7 separate regions of the Homo sapiens genome follow, and all the other regions are linked to region 6. Evidence: promoter capture Hi-C in human tissues and cell types (Jung and others, 2019). All regions are on one chromosome and are shown on one strand. The core of a region is centred on a gene start or on the middle of the fragment in contact, and the rest is flanking DNA. Distances in the headings are between cores, read along the strand shown.

The links. Contacts are between HindIII fragments. The study calls those that stand out against the background at their distance.
Region 1: a contact is called between the fragment with the promoter of COA3 here and a fragment that was not itself captured in region 6, in 2 of the 25 tissues and cell types used here (adrenal gland and lymphoblastoid cells).
Region 2: the fragment with the promoter of CCR10 here is called in contact with a fragment that was not itself captured in region 6 in 2 of the 25 tissues and cell types used here (lymphoblastoid cells and mesendoderm cells).
Region 3: a contact is called between the fragment with the promoter of WNK4 here and a fragment that was not itself captured in region 6, in 1 of the 25 tissues and cell types used here (lymphoblastoid cells).
Region 4: the fragment with the promoter of RAMP2 here is called in contact with a fragment that was not itself captured in region 6 in 3 of the 25 tissues and cell types used here (aorta, dorsolateral prefrontal cortex and hippocampus).
Region 5: the fragment with the promoter of AOC2 here is called in contact with a fragment that was not itself captured in region 6 in 6 of the 25 tissues and cell types used here (H1 embryonic stem cells, dorsolateral prefrontal cortex, heart left ventricle and 3 more).
Region 7: a contact is called between the fragment with the promoter of EZH1 here and a fragment that was not itself captured in region 6, in 1 of the 25 tissues and cell types used here (adrenal gland).

Annotation. Positions count from the first base shown.
Region 1 is chr17:42,796,898-42,800,102 of GRCh38, reverse strand. COA3 (cytochrome c oxidase assembly factor 3) reads left to right here and starts at 1,399. Exons shown (of 2, transcript NM_001040431.3): 1 at 1,399-1,635; 2 at 1,936-2,478. The coding sequence starts at 1,422. The coding sequence ends at 2,042. It overlaps CNTD1 (cyclin N-terminal domain containing 1), which reads right to left and starts at 1,242. Exons shown (of 7, transcript NM_173478.3): 1 at 867-1,242. The coding sequence starts at 1,035. WNK4 (WNK lysine deficient protein kinase 4) reads right to left here. Exons shown (of 19, transcript NM_032387.5): 19 at 3,037-3,205. RefSeq lists enhancers at 1,387-1,436, 1,457-1,506, 1,647-1,716. The HindIII fragment of the contact is 12,523 bases long and covers 1-3,205 here.
Region 2 is chr17:42,680,301-42,683,470 of GRCh38, reverse strand. It overlaps CCR10 (C-C motif chemokine receptor 10), which reads left to right and starts at 1,628. Exons shown (of 2, transcript NM_016602.3): 1 at 1,628-1,671; 2 at 2,854-3,170. The coding sequence starts at 1,648. CNTNAP1 (contactin associated protein 1) reads right to left here and starts at 940. Exons shown (of 24, transcript NM_003632.3): 1 at 575-940. The coding sequence starts at 641. RefSeq lists enhancers at 486-535, 796-845, 789-1,407, 2,626-3,170 and a silencer at 1,946-2,240. The HindIII fragment of the contact is 6,302 bases long and covers 1-3,170 here.
Region 3 is chr17:42,779,358-42,782,438 of GRCh38, reverse strand. WNK4 (WNK lysine deficient protein kinase 4) reads right to left here and starts at 1,829. Exons shown (of 19, transcript NM_032387.5): 1 at 1,123-1,829. The coding sequence starts at 1,740. It overlaps VPS25 (vacuolar protein sorting 25 homolog), which reads right to left. Exons shown (of 6, transcript NM_032353.4): 6 at 2,840-3,081. RefSeq lists an enhancer at 799-1,756. The HindIII fragment of the contact is 5,514 bases long and covers 1-3,081 here.
Region 4 is chr17:42,759,541-42,762,763 of GRCh38, reverse strand. It overlaps RAMP2 (receptor activity modifying protein 2), which reads right to left and starts at 1,537. Exons shown (of 4, transcript NM_005854.3): 1 at 1,406-1,537; 2 at 865-930; 3 at 301-409; 4 at 1-167. The coding sequence starts at 1,502. It overlaps RAMP2-AS1 (RAMP2 antisense RNA 1), which reads left to right and starts at 1,507. Exons shown (of 6, transcript NR_024462.1): 1 at 1,507-1,884; 2 at 2,053-2,129; 3 at 2,251-2,338; 4 at 2,884-3,025. RefSeq lists a silencer at 1,334-1,423. The HindIII fragment of the contact is 24,962 bases long and covers 1-3,223 here.
Region 5 is chr17:42,843,149-42,846,155 of GRCh38, reverse strand. AOC2 (amine oxidase copper containing 2) reads right to left here and starts at 1,576. Exons shown (of 4, transcript NM_009590.4): 1 at 1-1,576. The coding sequence starts at 1,529. PSME3 (proteasome activator subunit 3) reads right to left here. Exons shown (of 11, transcript NM_005789.4): 11 at 2,396-3,007. The HindIII fragment of the contact is 18,620 bases long and covers 1-3,007 here.
Region 6 is chr17:43,113,834-43,117,040 of GRCh38, reverse strand. It overlaps BRCA1 (BRCA1 DNA repair associated), which reads left to right. Exons shown (of 23, transcript NM_007294.4): 3 at 1,262-1,315. Among named protein-coding and RNA genes, the nearest start is that of BRCA1, 9.9 kb to the left of the region's middle. The HindIII fragment of the contact is 5,789 bases long and covers 1-3,207 here.
Region 7 is chr17:42,743,532-42,746,375 of GRCh38, reverse strand. EZH1 (enhancer of zeste 1 polycomb repressive complex 2 subunit) reads left to right here and starts at 1,336. Exons shown (of 21, transcript NM_001991.5): 1 at 1,336-1,365. RefSeq lists a silencer at 1,179-1,758. The HindIII fragment of the contact is 12,026 bases long and covers 1-2,844 here.

The sequences.
Region 1 (3,205 bases), core at 150-2,649, 320 kb after region 6:
CTTTCTTTTCTCTTTTTTTTTTTTTTTTTTTTTAGACAGAGTCTCGCTCTGTCACCCGTCACTCAGGCTGGAGTGTAGTGGCGCCATCTCAGCTCACTGCAAGCTCCGCCTCCCGGGTTCATGCCATTCTCCTCCCTCAGCCTCCGGAGTAGCTGGGACTACAGGCGCCCGCCACCACACCCGGCTTTTTTTTGTATTTTTAGTAGAGACGGGGTTTCACCATGTTAGCCAGGATGGTCTCGATCTCCTGACCTCGTGATCTGCCCGCCTCAGCCTCCCAAAATGCTGGGATTACAGGCGTGAGCCACCGCGCCCAGCCTTTTTTTTTTTTTTTTTTTTTTTTTTTTTTTGAGACGGAGTTTCATTCTTGTCGTCTAGGCTGAAGTGCAATGGCACGATTTCGGCTCACTGCAACTTCCGCCTCCTGGGTTCAAACAGTTCTCCTGTCTCAACCTCCCGAGTAGCTGGGATTAGAGGTGCGCGCCACCAGTCCTGGCTAATTTTTGTACTTTTAGTAGAGACAGGATTTCACCATGTTGGTCAGGCTGGTCTCGAACTCCTGACCTCAGGTGAACCTCCCACCTCAGCCTCCCAAAGTGCTGGGATTACAGGTGTAAGCCACCATGCCTGGCCCTCTATTTCATCTTTCTAGCCAAGCGGTGCCACTCAAGTATTCCATACATGTCGAAGAAATCAAGGGGAGGGCACTGTTGTGACTTATCCATCACTATATCCCCAGCACCCCACAGAGAGGTGTTAGCAAACATTCTCTGAATGAATAAAATCAACGGAATCTCAAGGTCGGTGCCTGAAAGACACAAGCCCCAGTCTCCCAAGAACCCAGCACCCCGGCCCTGCAGCCGCACCCACGATCTGGGGCTCCCTGAAGCGGCCCAGCCGCCCCGAAGCCTCCCTCACTGCTTGCTCATTCTGCTGGGCCAAGTGAAGCAGGGCGTCTTCAATCGTCTCTGTGGCGACAACTCCAAACTGAAAGTCAACGAGGGAGGCCGATCGTGGCCTCATGGGTCCGTCCATATTCACGAGCCTCTTGGGGCACCTGGACGGGTTCACTGGATCCACATACCGACCCCCTTAGCTCCTCTCCAGTCTTCTGCCACACCCTGGATTCCTCGTCCCCTTCCAATGAGTGTGTCGTCGCCTCAAGTCTGAGGAAAACCCAATTACCACCACAGCCTCGAACCCTCCACAGCTTTTTCCCGCCCCAACGGCCACGGACTCCTCAGCCAATCAGAAAGCACGTCCGCTTCTCACCTCCCGCGTCCATCCCCTGTGCCCGGGAACCGCGGCTCTGCCCCGCAAAGGGCACGCGGACTACAACTCCCAGAGTCCACTGCAGCGGCCAAGGGCTACTGTTCCCAGCGAGGCCCGCGCGGCGGCACCGCGAAGGGAGGAGTGGCAACATGGCGTCTTCGGGAGCTGGTGACCCTCTGGATTCTAAGCGTGGAGAGGCCCCGTTCGCTCAGCGTATCGACCCGACTCGGGAGAAGCTGACACCCGAGCAACTGCATTCCATGCGGCAGGCGGAGCTTGCCCAGTGGCAGAAGGTCCTACCACGGCGGCGAACCCGGAACATCGTGACCGGCCTAGGCATCGGGGCCCTGGTGTTGGCTATTTGTATCCGTCCGTGTTGTAGACTCAAGGGGACCGCATATAGGGGCAGGGGAACAGAGTGTGCAAGAGGGCTGAACCACCCGTTTAATTTTGGGGTAAAATGGGTAGTACTTTCCTTTGTTATTCCTAAGGTACTCTTTTAATTTGATTTATTAATAATAACGGAATTGGGGTTCAGGGTTTAGAAACAGCAGCGGCGGGAAGCCGGAATCACTGATTTGGGAGAGTAACAAGAGTGGTAGAGCAAATCTAGGAAAGGGGAATGTGCATATTCTGTGTGGTTTCCTGAACCTACCTCCCCAGATGGTTACACCTTCTACTCGATTTCCCAGGAGCGTTTCCTAGATGAGCTAGAAGACGAGGCCAAAGCTGCCCGAGCCCGAGCTCTGGCAAGGGCGTCAGGGTCCTAATCTGGATGGGTATTGATCATGTCCAACCTGCTGGAGCCCCTTCACATGGTGGATGATGCCCCATGACCCTGTAGAAATTGAATCCTGCTCACAACATTGTTGGCCTTCTTACTAACCTTGGACCGTGATTGAGCCCAAGAAACCAGGGACTTACGCATTTGGCCAATGTCAAAAGAACAGAACTTTGCCCACTGCACACTTGCTGTGTACAATGACTGAGCCCTTTCTTGTAGTTTGTTTCCTTGTTTGAGAGGTGTGCATGCGACCGTGGCTTTTCCCAAAGTTTCTGACTTTGTGGTTTACCCCCTTCACCTTCCAGGGACGCAGTTGTTACGAGGTTAGACGTGGCAGCTCTGTGCAGTGTTTGAGCCTACAGTGGGATACATAGGGTCAAATTGAGAATAATAAACTGAGTCATTCTCCTGGAGTCAAGTGAGTATGGAGGCTGAGAGGCAGCATATGGCACTTCATGCTGGAAAGCTTCACAAGCAGTAGCTGCAGTGGTGGCATTGCCCCAGGGAGCTGTAAATGTTTAACTAGAATTACTTTTTCCATGAGATCTTTCCACCTGATTTAAGGGAGAGATCACTGGGCAGTTTGAGACTGAACCCACGTCTTAGGGGAAGGAAGGTCACTCTTCTGTCCTCTACCCACAAGAACATACTGTAACTCTACTGCTTTTCCCATCCCCAGAGAGAGGGAGGGAGAGAGAGGTGGATGAAGGGTGAAAGACAAGCAGTCTTCATTCTTTTAACTTTCCCTGGTACCTGCCTATACAGGTCTAGGGTGGGGTCTGGAGGGGATCCTAACTTAGTCAAGTGGATCACTGACCTTGCAGTTTCCTCATTAACTGATGGCAGGAAGCCAGAGGGCTGGGCAGCTTCCACCCCTGCCTCCCATTGTGAAAAGAAAGTCCCTTTTAAATCCTCCCCTGCCTCACCCCACAAGTCTTTGCTCCCCCAATTCCTAAGGCATGGCATATGGATTCACGGCGTTCTTGTTTCCAGCATTTTTATTGGTTGCTGCTAATGTGGTGTGAGCATATCCCCTACACTCTCCCAGCTGGGAGTGGGCCCCTCTAGAAGCATCCAGGCTTGGGTGGGATTGCTTAGTGGTTGACTCTTGGCAGGGGAGGTGCTAGAGATGAAGATGGTAGGCAGCAG
Region 2 (3,170 bases), core at 379-2,878, 430 kb after region 6:
CCAACCCTAGCCTCAATCCAACTCGGCCCCCAAAACCTGCACCATCCCCAAATACAGGCCTTGCACCCAACCTCAGCCAGTGCTAGCACCATCACCAGCTCCATGTCCAGCCTTAGCATCAGTCAGGGGCACCAGCTCCTGCTTGGATCCCTGCCACAAAACCCAGCCCCAGCCACAAACCCCAGCCCTAGCCACAAACCCCACCCCTTGGCCAGCTCCAAAGTCCAGCCTTAAGCCCTGGCAAAACCTTAATCCTAGTATCGGTCACCAGTATACACTTATCCCCCAGCCCTAGCCTCAAACCCAGGCACCAGCTCCTGCTTGGATCCCAACCCCAAATCCCTGCCCGCTGACTTCATCCTCTTCCCAGAGCCCAGCCCCAGCCCCGGGCGCGCGCGGCAGCCTCAGAGCTGCAATGCGGAGCGCGGGGGAGAGGCAGGAAAAGATGAGAGCCAGCGGGCGCGCGCCGGCCGGGAAGGACCCGCGACCACCCAGCCGCAATGCGGTTCGGGGCCGCCCTGCAGGCTCTGGACTCCTGGGCCCAACCCCACCTGCCTCCAAGCCCAACACTCACAGTAGCCCCAGCCCTCGGCTCCTGAGACCGCGGCGAGCAGGATGCAGAAGAGCCGGAGATGCATCATGCAGGGCTGACGGTCCCGGCAGCCGCCTCCCTGTGAACGGCTCCGGCTAGGGCTCGAGTTCTGGCTTGGGCTCCAAGCTCTCCTCCTGGGGTTTGCAGCAGACCGCTCTCTCCTCCTTACCCACCCTTCCCTCCCTCTCTCCTTTCGCCCCCAAGCGCTCTGTCTCTCCTCTCTCTTTTCTCTCTCTCTCTCTCTGGTTCCTGGTCCTCCGCTCTTCTCTCTCTATCCTCTCCTTTCCACCCTCTTTCCTCTCACCTCCCCCCTTCCCCAGCCTCTGTCTCCTGGCACGCGCCGGTTTCCCGGACCCCGCGCAAGCGCGTGCCTCAGCCCTGCTGCGAAAGGGCGGGGGTAGAGAGCCTCTCGCCACCGGGAAAACCCCAAGTAACCCGAGGCTGCCCGGGACTAGGGCCACAGGAGTGAGGACAGGGAACCTAGGGCCAGAAGCATCCTGAAAATTTCAAGAAAAGGGAGGTGGTTTGGGGGAGGGGTGCCTGGAAATGGAATGAAGGGTAAGTAAAAGAATCTTAACATTTTCGGAAGGCAAATTATGCTCTAGGAGTGGTGCTGGGCACTGTGAATTTAGCATTTTTGCCCTACTCCACTTTGCAGATGAAAAACCTCAGGCTCAGAGAGGTCAAGAAACTTAGTCAATATCACACAGCAAATGATTATATTCCGAAGCCCGTTCTTTCTTCACTGACAAAGACAGTAAATTATTTTTTCTTTCTTTCGTTCATTCTTTTTTCTTTCTTTCCTTCCTTTTTTTCTTTCTTTCTTTCTTTCTTTCCTCTTTCCTTCCTTTCTTCTTCTTTTTTTTTTTTTCGTAAAATCCAGATCCTGCACAAGAGAGTGAAGTCTTTTGGAGGAGGTGGAATGGGAAAGTGACCCCGTAGACCCTAATCCCCACCTCCCTCTCGGCCCCTCTCCCCGCCTCTTCCTTCCTGTCCCGCTAGTAGTTTAACTTCTACCCCCTGTGGCTATACCTCAGAAACCTGTGTAGCCAGAGATGGGGACGGAGGCCACAGAGCAGGTGGGAGTGGGGGCAGGGAGGGGGAGAAGGGTTACAGAGAGGGAGGAGACAGGGAAGGAATGGGATTCCCCACCTGGCAATGGGCCTCTGCCATCCTATGGCTTATTCAGGATTCTTGGCGCTGTCTCAGACTAGGGGTCCTCCAGATAAATGGGCTGGTGGTGTGAGGCTGGGGTTGTGGGACAGGGACTAGGGCTGAGGGGAAAGGCGGGTTGAACCTAGAGGTCCAGGGTCCCACCTGGGCCCTGAAAACCTGAGTCCCAACCCTGGAGACCCCCTTGGCATGAGTGGTTCAGTGTGCTGGTATTGGAGGTACAGGGAAGGTGGGTATGGAAGGGAAAGAAGAGAAACAGAAACCCACTCCAGACGGAGGTTGGAGTCCAGGGCTCAGGTCTGAGGCAAAGCCTGCATATGGGCATCCTTCCAGGAGAGGGCGCTGCAAAGGGAACTGAAGCTGTAGGATTTATTAATAATACAAACTTTGGGCTGGGCGTGGTAGCTCAGGCCTGTAATCCCAGTACTTTGGGAGGCCAAGGTGGGCGGATCACCTGAGGTCAGGAGTTCGAGACCATCCTGGCCAACATGGTGAAACCCCATCTCTACTAAAAATACAAAAATTAGCTGGGCGTGGTGGTGGGCGCCTGTAGTCCCAGCTACTTGGGAGGCTGAGGCAGGAGAATCTCTTGAACCCGGAGGCGGAGGTTGCAGTGAGCCGAGATCGTGCCACTGCACTCCAGCCTGGGCGACAGAGCAAGACTCTGTCTCCAATAATAATAATAATAAATAATAATAATAATACAAACTTTGTATTATGGCCTTTGGAGAACACAGGTTCTCCCCATCCATTATTTTCCATATTGCCATCTTCACAGCAAACCTTGAGAGGTGGGCTGGTCAGGATTTATAATCTCAACATTACAGGTTAGGTAACTGAGGTCTAGAAAGAGCAAGTGGCTTGCTCAAGGTCACCCAGGAAGCTGGAAGCAGAGGTAGGAGGGGTGCAAGGGAAGCCAAGGCCTGCTGAAGGTGTGCTAGGAAGAGTCTGGAGAAGAGCTTATGTCTCCCCGTGTACTGTTACATCTGGCCACACAGGAGCTCTCAGCTTGGAAGGCAAGTGTGGGCGGGGGAGTTGTGTGGTCAGATGTGTCTCATAAGATCCCGCCTCTCATTTGACCCTCCCAGGTTTCCTGGGGCCATTACTCTGGGGATGAAGAGGACGCATACTCGGCTGAGCCACTGCCGGAGCTTTGCTACAAGGCCGATGTCCAGGCCTTCAGCCGGGCCTTCCAACCCAGTGTCTCCCTGACCGTGGCTGCGCTGGGTCTGGCCGGCAATGGCCTGGTCCTGGCCACCCACCTGGCAGCCCGACGCGCAGCGCGCTCGCCCACCTCTGCCCACCTGCTCCAGCTGGCCCTGGCCGACCTCTTGCTGGCCCTGACTCTGCCCTTCGCGGCAGCAGGGGCTCTTCAGGGCTGGAGTCTGGGAAGTGCCACCTGCCG
Region 3 (3,081 bases), core at 580-3,079, 340 kb after region 6:
GGAGGGGGCACCCGGGGGCTGGCAGTGAGCAGGCAGCAGGCGGGCAGCAGGATACTGCGGGCAGGGAATTGGGGCCGGCAAGGGGGTTGGCCCCAGAAACAGAACTGCTAGATCCAGACGGAAGGCGGGAGGGATATGGAGGGAGGTACTGAGAAGGAAAGAAAAGATCCAGGACTAGGCGCCAGGAGGCTGCCCACCCCCATAGTCGTCCCGCCCCGGCTCCTCTCCCTCCCCTCACCCCCCAATTTGGCTGCCTCTCCTGGCCTGGCCCAGAGCCTGGGGCGCGGCACTGGCAGGCGCAAGGGGCGAGCCCTGTGCCAGGGCTGGAGAGGGACCCTTCCCCTAGGCTCTGTCCCCTGATCTGAATCGGAAGCTTCAGGCCCCAAGTTGACTGGGTTCTCCTAACCCATATGTAGCATGGGAGCAATGGGAGGAAGGTCCCCCTAAAGCCCATGGGCTTAGTGCCTTTAGGTCTGGGAAGGGAGAGCACAGGTAGGCAGTGGGATGAGGAGCAGAACTGGACTCACTCGAGAGCTGGAGCTCCCTATGTCCCCCTCCTCGCAGCTGTGGAGAAGTCCAGAAGTCTGACTGCTCCAGAAGGGGTTAGGGGGCCCTATTCTGCCACAACTGCCCTAAATCTTCTGGAGTTGGAGATGACCCTTGCCCAGCTCCTGGCTTCCCGCATCCCAGCCTCCTGGTCTGCAAATAGGTGGGGGACGGGAGGAGTGAGGGGATCAAGAGGACCAGGGTCATAACTGAGGATCTCAGGACTTAGGGGAGAGGAAGGGATTGCGGGTACCCACCAGCAGGAAACTGACCTGAACTGGCTCCCCTGCCTAACTTCCCATCCTATTTTCCACCTCTCAGGGTTGAGTATGGAGACTTTAAAGTGAGAATGTTCATACCCATGGGGGAGTCACCAGACACCACCTGCCTCAATCTCTCCTTCTGCAGCCCAGAGTCAGCCAGATCATTCAGGGCAAAGACAGCAGAGGTGTCTATAGACATTTGACTGGAAAAATACATGCTTCCCTTGATGCTGTCTCCCCCACCCTCTGTCTGTCATCCTAAGACCTCCAGAGTCCCATCCCAAGGTGCCACCGAGGGGGCTCCCAGCCGCACCTGCAGCTCACACCAGGCCACCTCCACTGTGGTGTCGGTGTCTAGCCCTCGATACACCGTCTTGAAGGAGCCACGTCCAATCTCGATGTCAAACTTGAGGTATCGGCCATCGGGGGACGTTGCCACAGCCTGGGTCTCCATGTCCTCCTTTTCTTCCTGCTCCCGCCGCCGCTCTAGGGCCACAGCTTCAGGGACCCTTAGCGGCTCCCTGGACCCCGGGCCCACTGCAGAGTCCGGGAGCTCGGGACGCGCGGAGTCTTCCGCAGCCTTCACAGGGGCTCCCTCGGTCCACGTGCCCTCGGGGGGTTCTTTGGAGCTAGGCGGTGGGCTCCTCGCGGGGCCAGGACCAGCGGAGTCCGGAGGATCGGGGGGGTCCGGAGCGGGTGAGGCTGGCAGGGACCAAGAGCTCAGCAGCCCCAAGTCGACTGAGCTACGGCGGCTGAGACGAGAAGAGCGCGGCCGGGGCTCAGCCTTCCCGGAGAAGCGGCGCGCTCGGCGAGGAGGGGGCCCGAGGCGGGGCTGCCCCGCGGTGCCAAGAGGAGGCGGGGGCCGCAGGGCCAGGTCGGCCTCAGTCTGGGACATGAGGACGGTGGTCTCCGTGGCCGGGGATGCCAACATGAGGAAGAGCAGGGCGCCGAAGGGTAGAAAATCAGACGGCCGGAGAGGAGGCGGCCTGACAGACGGACTCGCTGGGTGCGCTGCGCTCCGGCTGAGCGGCTGCGGCCCCAGCCCCCAGCTCGGCCTGGCCCCGCCCCCGTCGCCGCCCCGCGGCCCGCCCTTGCCCCCCAGGGCCGCCCCTCCGAGCTGCTCCCGCGGTGCGGATCCCGCGAGCAGCCCCTCACCTTAGTCACCGCCCCGCCCAGCCGCGTCCCCTTCTTTCCCGAGCCCCCGGCCGCAGTCTCACTCTGAGGCCAGAACTGAGTGGGAGACCGCGGAGCATCCTCCCGCACTAAGAGTGAGCAAACCTGTTTGTGCGCGGAGGAGGGCAGGAGAGAACGACACCCGGACCCTAGTGGGGGATTACTTAGGGGGAGGCTACCACCCTCCTGCACACCCCAGATAAGGCAGCACCACCCCCTCCTAACTGTCCGGAGTAGCCCCAGGCCGAACGGAGAGGTCAGTGGAAAGGTCTGACGTTGTTGTCCCTCTGGTCTGCATAGGGAATGGGTGTGTACTCCCCAGGATAAGTCCCTCCCCCAAACCGAGAGCCCGGTCATCCATCCCCTCCAGGCCACCTTGGCCGCAGCCTAACCCTGGCCAGAGTGGCTGTTTTTGCTATATGGGCTCTCCTTCCTCCCCTTCTGTTTGCCAGTCTCCAATAAACCAAAGTCCACATCCGGCTTACCCCCCTCAGCTCCCCTTGGCCACAGTTACCCCACCCAGACCAGATGGGTGGAGGGAGGGGCTTCAGAGTAGTTCAGGACTTCCATGAGGGAGATGGTGAGGGAAGGGGGAGCCCTTAAGTGACTCCAATTCAGAGAGAAAGCAGTCTGTCCCCAAGCTGTGTTCCATCAGCACTCCTCCACACAGCCCACCCAGCAGATGTAAAACCACAGGCTCACTGGAGCCCACAGGGCCCTGGAGGACCTTTTCTTCTACAAAAGCCATAAGCTTTCTTTTCTCTCCCCTCTCCCAGGCTGGGATTTACTCAGGTGGCAACACTTCACAGCCCTCCCCATCCCCATTCCAGTACTGTAGTAATTTAAGAGGCAGGCAGTGGGAGTTGAGATTTTAATATCATAAATCGGTGTGGGGCCACACCTCTCACTGCCAGGCCCGTGGGCCTCCTATCTTCATATTGCCTGGAAGGCTGCCTGCAGCCAGGGCTTCCCCCATCCCCTAGGAAGGATCCAGCACCAGCCTGAGAAGGGAGGCAACAGCAGCTAAAGGGGTGGGAGGAGGAGGAGACAGAAGCATGTGCTGCAGGCGCATGTGTGTATGTACTTACATGTGTGAACA
Region 4 (3,223 bases), core at 288-2,787, 350 kb after region 6:
GGAGTACATCCTCTGGGGGGTCAGAGAAGGTGGGCTGCACCAGGGAGCAGTTGGCAAAGTGGATCTGGTGAGTCTCAAAGATGATCCTCTCTGCCAAGGGATTGGGGAAGCCCAGGTCAAACAACTCTGCAAAGTGCTCCAGGCAATCTCGCAGGGTGCTATAAGGCCTAGGGGCAGAAGAGGACTTGAGTGAGAGAGGGGGTGGACCCAGGGAGAAGAGTGCCCCACTCTCACTCAGGGTCTACCTGCAATGAGCAGGTCCACCCCCTGGCCTGAGCCACCCTCCATCACTGCCCCTACCTGCTAATCATGGCCCAGTCGCACCAATCCTTTTCGATAGGATCCATTTGATCCTTATAATGATTCCAGCAAAATTGGACAGCTGTCTCATAGTTCTTCACCGTCCCCCCTGTAGGTACAGATGCTACACAATGACCACACCCCTACCCCTCCCTACAAACCCTCCTGCCCAGGTGCTTGCAAGGTGAACTGCCTGTCTTCAAACGTGGGAACCCTTCAGAAAGTTTCCCTAGCAAAACATTCTGGCTGAGGACAGAGTCCCAGCTCAGGAATCCTATAATGACTTCCATGTGCTAAGCACTTTCCATCCCAGCCTGATAAGAACTTCCACGTACACCTTTTCCTGGGGTCTTCTCGCCCACTTGTGAGGTGGGCAGCTCAGAGCCGTGCAGGGGCTTTGTAGGAGGACAGGGAGAAAGACCACGAGGAACCCCAAGAAAGAACAGAGGGGAGTGTAGTGGGGCATCAGCTGGGGTTGGGCAGGCCTCGTGGGAAAGGAACCCTCCCCACTGAACTTGCTCTCGTCCTTACCCTCGGCCACCCTTCCACACCCTGGGTACCCACCTTCTGACCCTGGTGTGCCTGTGGTGGGAAGAGGCTGAGCCAGGGCCTCGTGGGGATTCAGGACAGCTGTGGGAAGAAACGGGAGAGGAGGGTAACATAGCGGGGACCCCGGCAGTGGAGCCTGCGAGGGGGGTTGGGGGACTGAGACCCTCCGAAAATAGGCTACCTTGGAAGAAAAGGAGGAATAATCTAGCCCCCACGGACGCCTCAGTGCCGGGGAGGGAGGGGCTGGCACCAGCTCCTTGTCACTCACACCCAGGCCCAAAGCCCCCTCATCTCTGGCCAGCTTCCGTCCTCCTAAGCCCTCTTCGAGGGGCCGGGGCCAGCACCCCAGCTTTCCCTGGGTGGGAAGCAGCTCATGCTGCGCCCGCCCCGAGGTGGGGTCAGGGACCGTCCGAGGGCCAGTGCTGCTAGGTACGTCGGTCCTAACCCGCACCCCAGGGCCCGTTCCGGCCTCGGCCATCCAGCCCCTCTCCCCTCTCCCCTCTCCCCTCCGGGGCCTCTCGCGCCTCCCGCCCGGGCCTCGGGGCGCCGCGCTCACCGCCCAGCAGGAGGAGGAGGCGGAGCGCTGCCGGCCGCCCGACTCGGGTCCTAGGGAGACGCGGGCCGCCGGCGCGCTCCACCCGGAGCGAGGCCATCGTGCAGCAAGGAGGCGAGGAGCGGCGGCGGCGCTGAGCCGGGCCCGGGTGTGGGGGCGCCTATATCCCCAGCCCAAGCTGCAGGAAGCCGCGCCGCTTCCTCGGAGGGGCTGGGACGGCGGCGGCCACGTGGGGGGCGGGGGCGACGCTCGGGGCCCGCGGCTGGAGGGGGAGTCGCTGCCTCACCCGCGCCTGGCGCCCGCGGCTCCCTCCGCCTCGCCGGCGTTGGCCCACCCTCTCGTAGCTCACCCCGCGAGGCTGGACAGCTCCCGGAACCCCGGAACCGGGATCTATTTCGGGGGCTCGGCTGCGTGGCGCCCAGGACTCTCCAGGGTCTCCCAGGATCGCTCCCCGAATTCGAGTCGCCCCCTCTCTCTTTCGGGTCTGGAGGGGTCGGCAAGCTGCTCTCCCAGACGTGGAGAAGAGGGAGGGGGCTGGGAGCTCCAGCGGCCTCTCGACGCCGCTGCTTCTAAGGGGCTGTCCTGGGTTGTGGGGGAAGGGGCGCCTGGAGCTGAGCCATGCAGCTCAGGGTTCCTTATCCTATCCCTAGGAATACCAGCTGATGTCAGTCCGCCAGCCAAAACCAGGGAGGAGAAGCGGGAGCCAGCCCTCTGGAGTCGGGAGAAGGTCTGGGGAGTGGGGTAGAGGGGAAAGCAAAGTCCAAATACCTTCCCTTCAGACACCTCCTGGGGCCTAGACCCCACAAACCTGTTGTGGGGAGGGCAAAATACGATGACTACGTTCCCAGGAAGAAGGTGCCACAGCTCTTCAGGACCACGGTTGGGAGAAAGAATGGAGGGGTTTTAGAACCTTCAGTGTGCGACTTCATGTGCCAGGTGAGTGTAACACCATTTTACAGACCGAGAAGCTAAAGCTCAGGGCCAACAGCCCGGGATTTGAATTCAGAAGCTCTGGGTTCTAATTCTGTCTTCTTACTCCCCAGCTATAGAGCCTTGAATGACACGTTTACCTTCAGGACTTCTCATGTGAAATAGGGACATTCCCCTCCTCACTGTATGATGGCAGCTGTGAAAGGGCACTGCACTCGCTAAATGCTAGTTTCCTTTCCTCTTTTCCTAAGTGACTTATCTAAGGTCACACTGTTAAGGAAGCAGCAAGGCTGAGTCTGGGCCTCCGGGGGTCCTGACTTCAGCCACACCACAGCTGCTTCTTGTGTCCTGGGCCAGAGGTTCATTAGTCTGAAGCAGCTGAGGAGCCCAGGAGCTGGTTTGGCCATGACGTTCAAGTCCCAGACACAGCTGTCAGCACCAAACTTTCCTAAATTACTCCCAGACACTGACCCTTGGACTCAGCTGCTGCTGTTGTCCCAGTTTACTGATTCCTGCCCACCACAAATTATCTGTCCTGATCTCTCCTGAAGTCTTCATCTCAGGATCTCAAGCTCTTGGATCATGGGCACGGATAACCTGTTGTCCTCCTCTATGGTCAAGAGGCTGCTTTTGCAAAGAATCCAGTGGGAGAGAGTCAATGGCCTGCTTGACGTGAACTCCAAAGTCCTCCTGGTAAGGATCATTTCTACAATGATGCAGAAAAGAGCCATGCAGTCTCTGAGACATTTCAGGCTGGGACCAAATCTAGTCCTTCCTGCCTGCCTAGGATTGCTCCTTTCAAGAAGGAAGCATGGGAGATTTCTGAGTGATAAGATGGGAGGAAGGAGCAAGGAGGTGCAGAAAGCAAAACAAGCCATTTTCACTGGGTTG
Region 5 (3,007 bases), core at 327-2,826, 270 kb after region 6:
CTTTCCCCCACACGGTTCCCAAAGAGGAGGCCCTCCTCTCCCCCTTTCAGGAAAGCTGTGTTGATATAACCCGTGGCATGGACCCGCCCTTCAAGTGCCCCATTTGGGTACAACACAAAGTCCCAAATGTAGTCATAGTTGCCCACAGATGACACAGACCTGACCACAAGGGCTGAGCTGGCCAAACCACCATAGAAATGATTTTGAAGGTAATTGTGGTGCCTTCGAAGGGGCAGTCCCTGGGCTTCCTCAAATACACACACAGCCCCTGGAAGCAGCTGGACTGCCCCTTTGCCCACTAATATATGGATGTCCACCATCGTGGCTTGATAGGGGCAGTCCACTCCCCGCACCAAGCCTCGGCTGTTACGGCCGAGTCCAAAGCTGCTATCCAAATAGCGAGTCAGCATCGTCTTGGGTGAATCGGCACCATAGATAGATACACACTCCTGGACACTGACTTCATAGGCTATTCGCTCACCCTGGAACCGAACATCAAAAATCCTCAGGCCGCTGAACACCCCATGGCCAAAGGTAAATGACCAGAGGGAGGATACCACCAGGTTTCCTTGCACACTGTACTGGGAACCCTGGGGCGAGAACTGAAGAGGGGGAAGAGGACCTGGAGAGTTCCGAGACCTCAGGGATGAAGCTCCATTTGGTGGAGGTAGAGGGACTCTAACCACTTCCAACCGGCCAGACTTAAACTCCCGTTCCAACTGGCCCAAGTCTGCATAGTAGTGCCCAAGGTAGAAGACCTGCTGGACAGTCCAGTGGGCAGGGTCCAGGGCCCTGTGGTCCAGTAGTAGCTCCAGCCCCACGGGGTGAAGGAAAAGACCAACCCCTGAGATGTTATGGTAGAGGGCCATCCAGGTAGCTCGGTCCCCTGAGCGCAAGCCCCGAGGGGTGGCATGCACAGCTGCCAGGGTAGAGCCATTGTAGTTGAAGGTGGACGACAGGAAGATGGGTGCCTTGGGTAGCTCCACCTCTTTCAGATGCCTCCACATCTGTGTAAACTCAGCTCTCAGCACCGGGCGACGGTGATAGGGCAGGGGCCCGCCGTGACGCTCCACAGTCACATCCCGCATGTACGAGGGGTGAGGCAGCGGCCCCACCACCAGCTCACTCACATTGGGTTGGGGTTGTCCACCAAAGAGGACGATGGCCAGTGCCTCCCGGGCAGGTGGGGGGCTCCCCCTGTCCAGGTGGGCCAGGGCTGCAGCCTTGGGGGGCAGCTGCAGCTCCACTGAGAAGATGCAGTTGTCCGAGGGCTGAGCCTGGGCTGCGTCCACCAGCCCTGGCCCCAGCCGCTGGGTCAGAAAGCGCATCACAGCTGTCAACTCCTCTCGGCTCAGGTCTGCAAACAGCTGGCTCTGGCCAGGGTGTGGCCAGGGCTGGGCCCTATGGGATACAGAGGGGCAGTGGGGAGGCTGGCTGGAACCACCTGGGCTGGTCAGCAAAACATAGGCCAGGGCAAAGATGGTAATGAGGGACAGTGCCAGGAACGCCAGGACTATCTTGAGATGCATGGTGGATGCTGAGAGCTGAAATCAGAATTCTAACAGCTGCTCCTTCCAGTTACTGACATCAAGTCGGGGTTTATATTCGCTAGGATGGATAGGAAGGGAGAAAACTCCACCCCATGGGTTGGGCAGGAAATTTCTGACCTTGATTTATGTAATTCTGTTCCAATTTTCTGTCCTGTGGTTTGGCCCAGGGCACTGCTTCCACATGCATAGCCTCTTCCTTGCCCCTGAACTCCCACTGGTAGCAGTCAGTACCAACTACTGATTTCCATCATTTAGACCAGATGAAAGGGAATCTGGGTTAACGATGCTAACCTCCAGTTTCCACCTGGAATGGGTCTCAGGAAGAGTACAAACCTCAGATGCCCAATTAAGTTCTGCAGCCTGCATGCAAGCACTAAGCTGTCCATTTTCCTACCTCCTGGCAGGAACTGCATCCCAACAGCTCCAGGATTCACTGCCATGTTCAGCAGTAAGCACTGAATTCTACTTGTTGCCTAATGCCAAGCCCTTGATTTGTAGTCAGGCCATTTCCAACCAGTGGAGTGGCTGAGGGCCTGGGCTTAGTAATCAGGTTTGTCCACCAATCCCAGTTCCCTCAGCTGTGTAACCTTAGCGGAAATACTTATCCTGAGTCTCAGTGTCCTCATCTGTAACAAATAGATACAACTATCCTATAGATTCCTGAAGATTAAATGTGATCATGCACATTAGGTACTTAACAGCCTGGCACAGGGGAGGCACTCACAAACCGCTAGCTTTTGGTAGTCATCTCTGAAACAGAACAGAGCAGCTGCTCCTCCATTGTTCAAGACCTTAAACTCTTTTTACAGAGACAACGAGGGGATCATTGGAAACCAGAAGGCTACTTGCAAGGTGGAAGATGAGGAAACTTTATTTCAGAGGGAGATAGATTCCTAGGCAGCCCTCCAAGTAATTTGAAAACCAAAACTAGGAGTCTCCTCAAGAAACTGAAGACATTATTCAGGAAGAATTAGTATAAGGTAAAGAAAATGACTGGGTAGGACGCGCCTTGAACCAGTTCATTCCTTACACATGGAACGATAGCAGCCTCTACTGGCAGTTCATGGGTATCACTCGGGAAGGAAGGAACTAGGATCTTCTGAAAGTAGGGAGAGAAGGCAGCTTAGGTCTGGGAAGAGCTAACTTTCCCATAATTCAGACTGAACACAAATGAAGCACCCAACCTTGCTCAGTAGGCAGAAGCCTCAGTCTTTCCACTATACTGGGGAAAAGATTCAGCTCAACTGGCATAAGGACACACAACAGGGTGGCTAGGTGTCCATGGAGGTGGGTGTCCAAGCGTGCACACATATGAGCATGAGTACATCCCTAGCCACCAGAGCATTGCACCAGGGTCTGCGGCTTTAGAAAGAGGTCAAAGTACCTGTATTTTTAATAATTTCTTGACATGGTAAAAGAATTTTACATTACGATCCATGGGTGATAGGGTGAGGAGG
Region 6 (3,207 bases), core at 156-2,655:
ATCTGTAAAGTGTTCTTGCCAGAAAGTTGAACCTGAATGATTAAGCCTGTAAGTCTAGTTTATAGGAAATAAGGCTAGAGGAACAAGTTAAACCTCACCATAGGGTTATACAATCAGCAAAATCCAGAATGGGGGAAACTCCACAGGTCAAATGACCTAATTTTAAAAATAAATGACAAGGGAGAAAAAGTAAGAGACACCTATAGATCAGAAGACACTTGGGGCTGGGCATGGTGGCTCACACCTGTAATCCCAGCACTTTGGGAGGCCAAGGCAGGCGGATCACCTGAGGTCAGGAGTTCAAGACCAGCCGGCCAACATGGTGAAACCCCAACTCTACTAAAAATACGAAAAATCAGCCGGGCGTGGTGGCGCACGCCTGTAGTTCCAACTACCTGGGAGGCTGAGGCAGGAGAATCACTTGAACTTGGGAGGCAGAGGTTGCAGTGAGCCGAGATCGCACCATTGCATGCCAGTCTGGGCTACAAAAGCAAAACCCCATCTCAAAAAAAAGAAGACACTTGGGTTTGGGTGTGTTGGCTCATGCCTGTAAACCCCGTGCTGGGAGGATTGCTTGAGCCCAGGAGTTCAAGGCTGCAGTGAGGTATGTTTGCACCACTGCACTCCAGCCTAGGTGACAGAGTGTGACCTTATCTTAAAAGTAATAATAATTAAAATAATCTGGGGTAGGGGTGGATATGGGTGAAACAGCTTGGCCATGAGTTGATGGTTGTTGGACCAGGGTGATGGTCCATATAGTTCATTTTATTATTTTATTTACTTGAAATTTTGAAATACTTGAAATTTTCCATATTAAGTTAAAAAGGCATTTACAGTAAACAAAAAAAAGTTCTAGGAAGGAATTCAAAAGAAATATAAGCAGAAAATTTTGTCTTTATGGAGCTTAAAGATGAGATGTGCACCCACAGTGATAGTGCAGAAAAATATATCACTGGAAATGAATTCGTACGAACTATTATCAACTAATCTTTTAAATGCTGATGATAGTATAGAGTATTGAAGGGATCAATATAATTCTGTTTTGATATCTGAAAGCTCACTGAAGGTAAGGATCGTATTCTCTGCTGTATTCTCAGTTCCTGACACAGCAGACATTTAATAAATATTGAACGAACTTGAGGCCTTATGTTGACTCAGTCATAACAGCTCAAAGTTGAACTTATTCACTAAGAATAGCTTTATTTTTAAATAAATTATTGAGCCTCATTTATTTTCTTTTTCTCCCCCCCTACCCTGCTAGTCTGGAGTTGATCAAGGAACCTGTCTCCACAAAGTGTGACCACATATTTTGCAAGTAAGTTTGAATGTGTTATGTGGCTCCATTATTAGCTTTTGTTTTTGTCCTTCATAACCCAGGAAACACCTAACTTTATAGAAGCTTTACTTTCTTCAATTAAGTGAGAACGAAAAATCCAACTCCATTTCATTCTTTCTCAGAGAGTATATAGTTATCAAAAGTTGGTTGTAATCATAGTTCCTGGTAAAGTTTTGACATATATTATCTTTTTTTTTTTTTTTGAGACAAAGTCTCGCTCTGTCGCCCAGGCTGGAGTGCAGTGGCATGATCTTGGCTCACTGCAACCTCCGCCCCCCGAGTTCAAGCGATTCTTCTACCTCAGCCTCCCAGGTAGCTGGGACTACAGGCACCCGCCACCATGCTTGGCTAATTTTTGTACTTTTAGTAGAGATAAGGTTTCACCATATTGGCCAGGCTGGTCTCGAACTCCTGACCTTGTGATCCACCTGCCTCGGCCTCCCAAAGTTCTGGGATTACAGGCGTGAGCCACCACACCCGACTGACATATATTATCTATTAGGATGTAACATCATTTTGAACAGTGTTTTGTATTTTTTGTGTCCATCAGTGAAAGCAAACTGCAAGCAGTTTTGAAATAAGCACATTGTGTTTGAGCCTTCCCAGTTTCTCCTTTCTGTTCATTTCTGCATATCCTTATGCATTCCCCCTTCTAAGGGTCAGTGTTTGCCCGCTTTGTAATCATTGTGAAGACAGGAAAGGACCTGATACCAGTTTCTATTTAGGCCAAAATTCATTTATAGCAGTGATTCAAGTTATATTTACGTATTTGATGATCTTGTCTTTTGAAATGAAAATGTTTGTTTCTTAATAAAAGAATTTCAGAAAAAGTAGAGTAGGTAATTTAGTAGAACAAGTGGGCTTTCTCCTTTTCTTTATGTTAAGCTATGGCTCACATCTTACCTTAAATGTCAACTAATTTGTTTTTAAGTATTTATGTACCTGGTACATAACCTGGTACCAGGTACAAACTATGTACTTGGTAAAAAGTTTATTAGCACAAAAAGGTATATGATGCAAAGTATACTTCCCTCTTACCCTACAACCCCTGCCTCCCTGTTCCCTCCCCAGACAACCACAATGATCAATTTCTTATGTATCCTTTGAGGAATTTTTAAATTCCAGAGTTCTTAACTTGGGGTTTATGAATAGTCTTTATGAATTTCCTAGAATTATATTTAAATTGTATTCAAAACTATGGCCATGTACATTTTTCTGGGAAGATAGTCCATAATTTTCATCTGAGTGAGCTAAGATCATGCCACTGCATTCCAGCCTGGGCGACAAGAGGGAGACTCAAAAAAAAAAAAAAAAGTCCCAGTATTTACTACAGAGAGCTAAAGATTAACCTTTAAAGCCCTGGGGCTTTCAATTTATCTGGATGAGAATCTTTCTGGAATGAACTGTATGTTTTCTTGTCAGCTTGAGTAACAAATGCTGAACATACTATACTATTATTACAGGGACTCAAGGGCCCAGTGTGGTAGCTCCTGCCCATAACCCCAGCACTTTGGGAGGCCAAGGCAGGAAGATCACTTAAGGCCAGGAGTTCGAAGCTGTAGTGAGCTATGATCACACCACTGCACTCCAGCCTAGATGACAGAGTGAGACCCTGTCTTTTTTTTTTTTTGAGATGGTGTTTCACTCTATTGCCCAGGCTGGAGTGCAGTGGTGTGATCTCGGCTCACTGCAACCTCCACCTCCTGGGTTCAAGCGATTCTCCTGCCTCAGCCTCTTGAGTAGCTGGGATTACAGGCATCTGCCACCACACCCAGCTAATTTTTGTATTTTTAGTCGAGACAGGGTTTTCACCATGTTGGCCAGGCTGCTCTCAAACTCCTGACTTCAGCTACCTTGGCCTTAAAAAGTGT
Region 7 (2,844 bases), core at 87-2,586, 370 kb after region 6:
CCCATCTCTACTAAAATTACAAAATTTGCCGGGTATAGTAGTGCATGCCTGTAAACCCAGCTACTTGGGAGGCTGAGGCAGGAGAATCGCTTGAACCCAGGAGGCAGAGATTGCAGTGAGCCGAGATTGCACCATTGCACTCCAGCCTAGGCAACAAGAGTGAAACTGTCTCAAAACAAACAAACAAACAACACGCACAAAAAATCAGCTTATGCGTGTTCGTCAAGAATACCACAGAAGTGATTTTGTGCGCTTCTCATTGCATCATGTTCAGAGGGACCTGGTAAGAATACCTCTCAGCTGGGGGCAATGGCTCATGCCTGTAATCCCAACACTTTGGGAAATCAAGGTGGGAGGATGGCTTGAACCCTGGAGTTCAAGACCAGCCTAGGCAACACAGCAAGACCCTGTCTCCTTAAAAAGAAGAGGGAGGCCGGGCGTGGTGGCTCATGCCGGTAATCTCAGCACTTTGGGAGGCCGAGGTAGGCAGATCACTTGAGGTCAGGAGTTTGACAGCAGCCTGGCCAATACGGTGAAACCCCATCTCTACTAAAAATACAAAAATTAGCCGGGCGTGGTGGCACGAACCTGTATTCCTGGCTACTTGGGAGGCTGAGGCGGGAGAATTGCTTGAGCCCGGGAGGGAGAGGTTGCAGTGAGCCGAGATCGCGCCACGGCACTCCAGCCTGTGTAAGTAACAAAGCGAGACTCCGTCCAGCCTCGCCCCCCGGCAAAAAAAGAAGAAGAAAACAATACCTCTTATCACTAGTGATGCTAACTTTGATCACTTAGTTAAGGTGGTGTCTGACAGATTCTTATCTGTAAAGTTGCTATTTTTTTCCCTTTGTAACTAGCAGGTGTCTTGTGGGGATTTATTTCGATACAAGGCTATAATTTTGATTCTAAGTGACTAGAAAACTATGAACAGAAATAGGGAGATCAGACATAAATAAAGGGCTTAGAACCCATAGACCGGTGTCTGGAGAACTGGTAGGGGTGAAGCATCGGTATGAAGGTGATCTGGGTTGGCTTCAAACGCTGAAGTGAGATGTGGCTTGTCACCAGCGCGTGGGGATGGCAAATCCGCTGAATAGGGTCTTCAGGAAGATATTAGTGGCTCTGCGAAGGTTTCCCCAGAGCCCTTCCCCTCCCCTGCCAGCGCCGCTTTGGAAGCCGTCTGGGAGGCTGCACCCGCCAGGACTCCTGAGTGCGGGGTTTTGGCGGCAAATGACAGTAGTGCGTCCGCGCGGCACGGGTAAGTCAATGCGCACGCGCCGACAGGAGGCGCGGGGCGGGGCACGGCGCAGGGGTGGGGCCGCGGCGCGCATGCGTCCTAGCAGCGGGACCCGCGGCTCGGGATGGAGGGTGAGTGAGTAAACAAGCCTGGGCCGGGCGGTGGGGCCGGGCCTCCTCCCCTCGCCGCCCTGGGCCTGAGGGAGGGAGAGGCGGAGGGATCAGGAAATTGGAAGGAATCCGAGGGACACACTGCCTGCCTGGCCGGGGGTAGCAGGCGCCCCTCCTCATTCCGAGGGTGGGGGAATGGGGGCGACGGGGCGAGAGAGACCCAGGCGAGGACAGCGTCTGGGGCTGCGAGGGCTGTGTGCCCGGGAGGAGGAGCGGCGGGGGCGGGCTCGGGGACGGGGAATCCCGTTGGATGGCGGTGTGGGCCGGTGGGCGGGAGCCCCAGCGCCCAAAGGGCGCGGGAGGGCGGTGGCACCTGCGGGGGCCTTTAGCGAGGTGGACTCTGGGGACCTGGAGCTGTGCTTGGGGAGGGCTAGAGACCGGGGCTGATCTTGCGATGGCTTTCGGGGATGTTGAGGAGGGGTAGCAGTAAAAACAAGGCCGGGACTAGGGTGAGGTGAGTAAGGCTCCCAAGGCACAAAGTGTAAAGGAGCACTGACTCAGGGTCGCGCAAGTGCAGTGAGCGCCTCCTCACGTGCGTCCTGGGTGCCTCGGTCGCCTCACCCCAGGCCTGGCCCTGAGCAAGAATCTCCTTCACTCCAGACTTTTGGTCTCACGCCAATGATCGCTCACCCCCACCATTCAACCGAGGATCAAATGATATAAATAAAAGTGCCTTGAAGCACAGACAAGGTGTTGTATTTGGGACATGCCTGTTAGGAAATGTGGGACAAACTTTTATTTCAATAAAAAGTGACTACTGAGGAATTGTTTCTTGAGCAGGGAAGGGAAGGGATACCTGAAGGATGTTAGTGCCCCCCGTGGAATGTGAAGGAATATGGAGGGTGAAATACAGGGTTGTATGTGATGTAGCCCAGGCCGATAGGAACCTGACGCTTGGCAGGGGAGGATGAAAGCAAAGGAGCTCAGGTACACTAACAATTAGGTGGGTGCAAGGATGGCAATGAAAACGCGAGTCTCCTCCACGTTTGCTGCCATACTGCCGCTGAATAAAAAAATTCCCACACCCCATGTTTTTTAAATTTAGGAAACTGATATTGAAGGAGGTTTCCAGCCTGAGAAGGTGCTAACCCTATTAGAGGTTTCTGTGAAAGCTTGTCTATTTTAAGTCTTGGAATCCCCAGATATGCCACTGATAAAAGAGATTACTTACATAGGAGAGAGTGTGTGTTAGGAGATAAGTACTTTAGACTGGGCTCGGTGGCTCATATCTGAAATCCCAGCATTCGGGAGGCCCAGGCAGGAGAATAGCTTGAGCCCAGGAGTTTGGGACCAGCTCAGGCAACAATAGCGAGACCTCATCTCTACAAAAAAAAAATAGCCAGATGTGGTGGCCTTCTCCTATAGTCCCAGCTGCTTGGGAGGCTGAAGCAGGAGTATTGCTTGAGACTGGGAGGTCAAGGTTGCAATGAGCTCTGATCC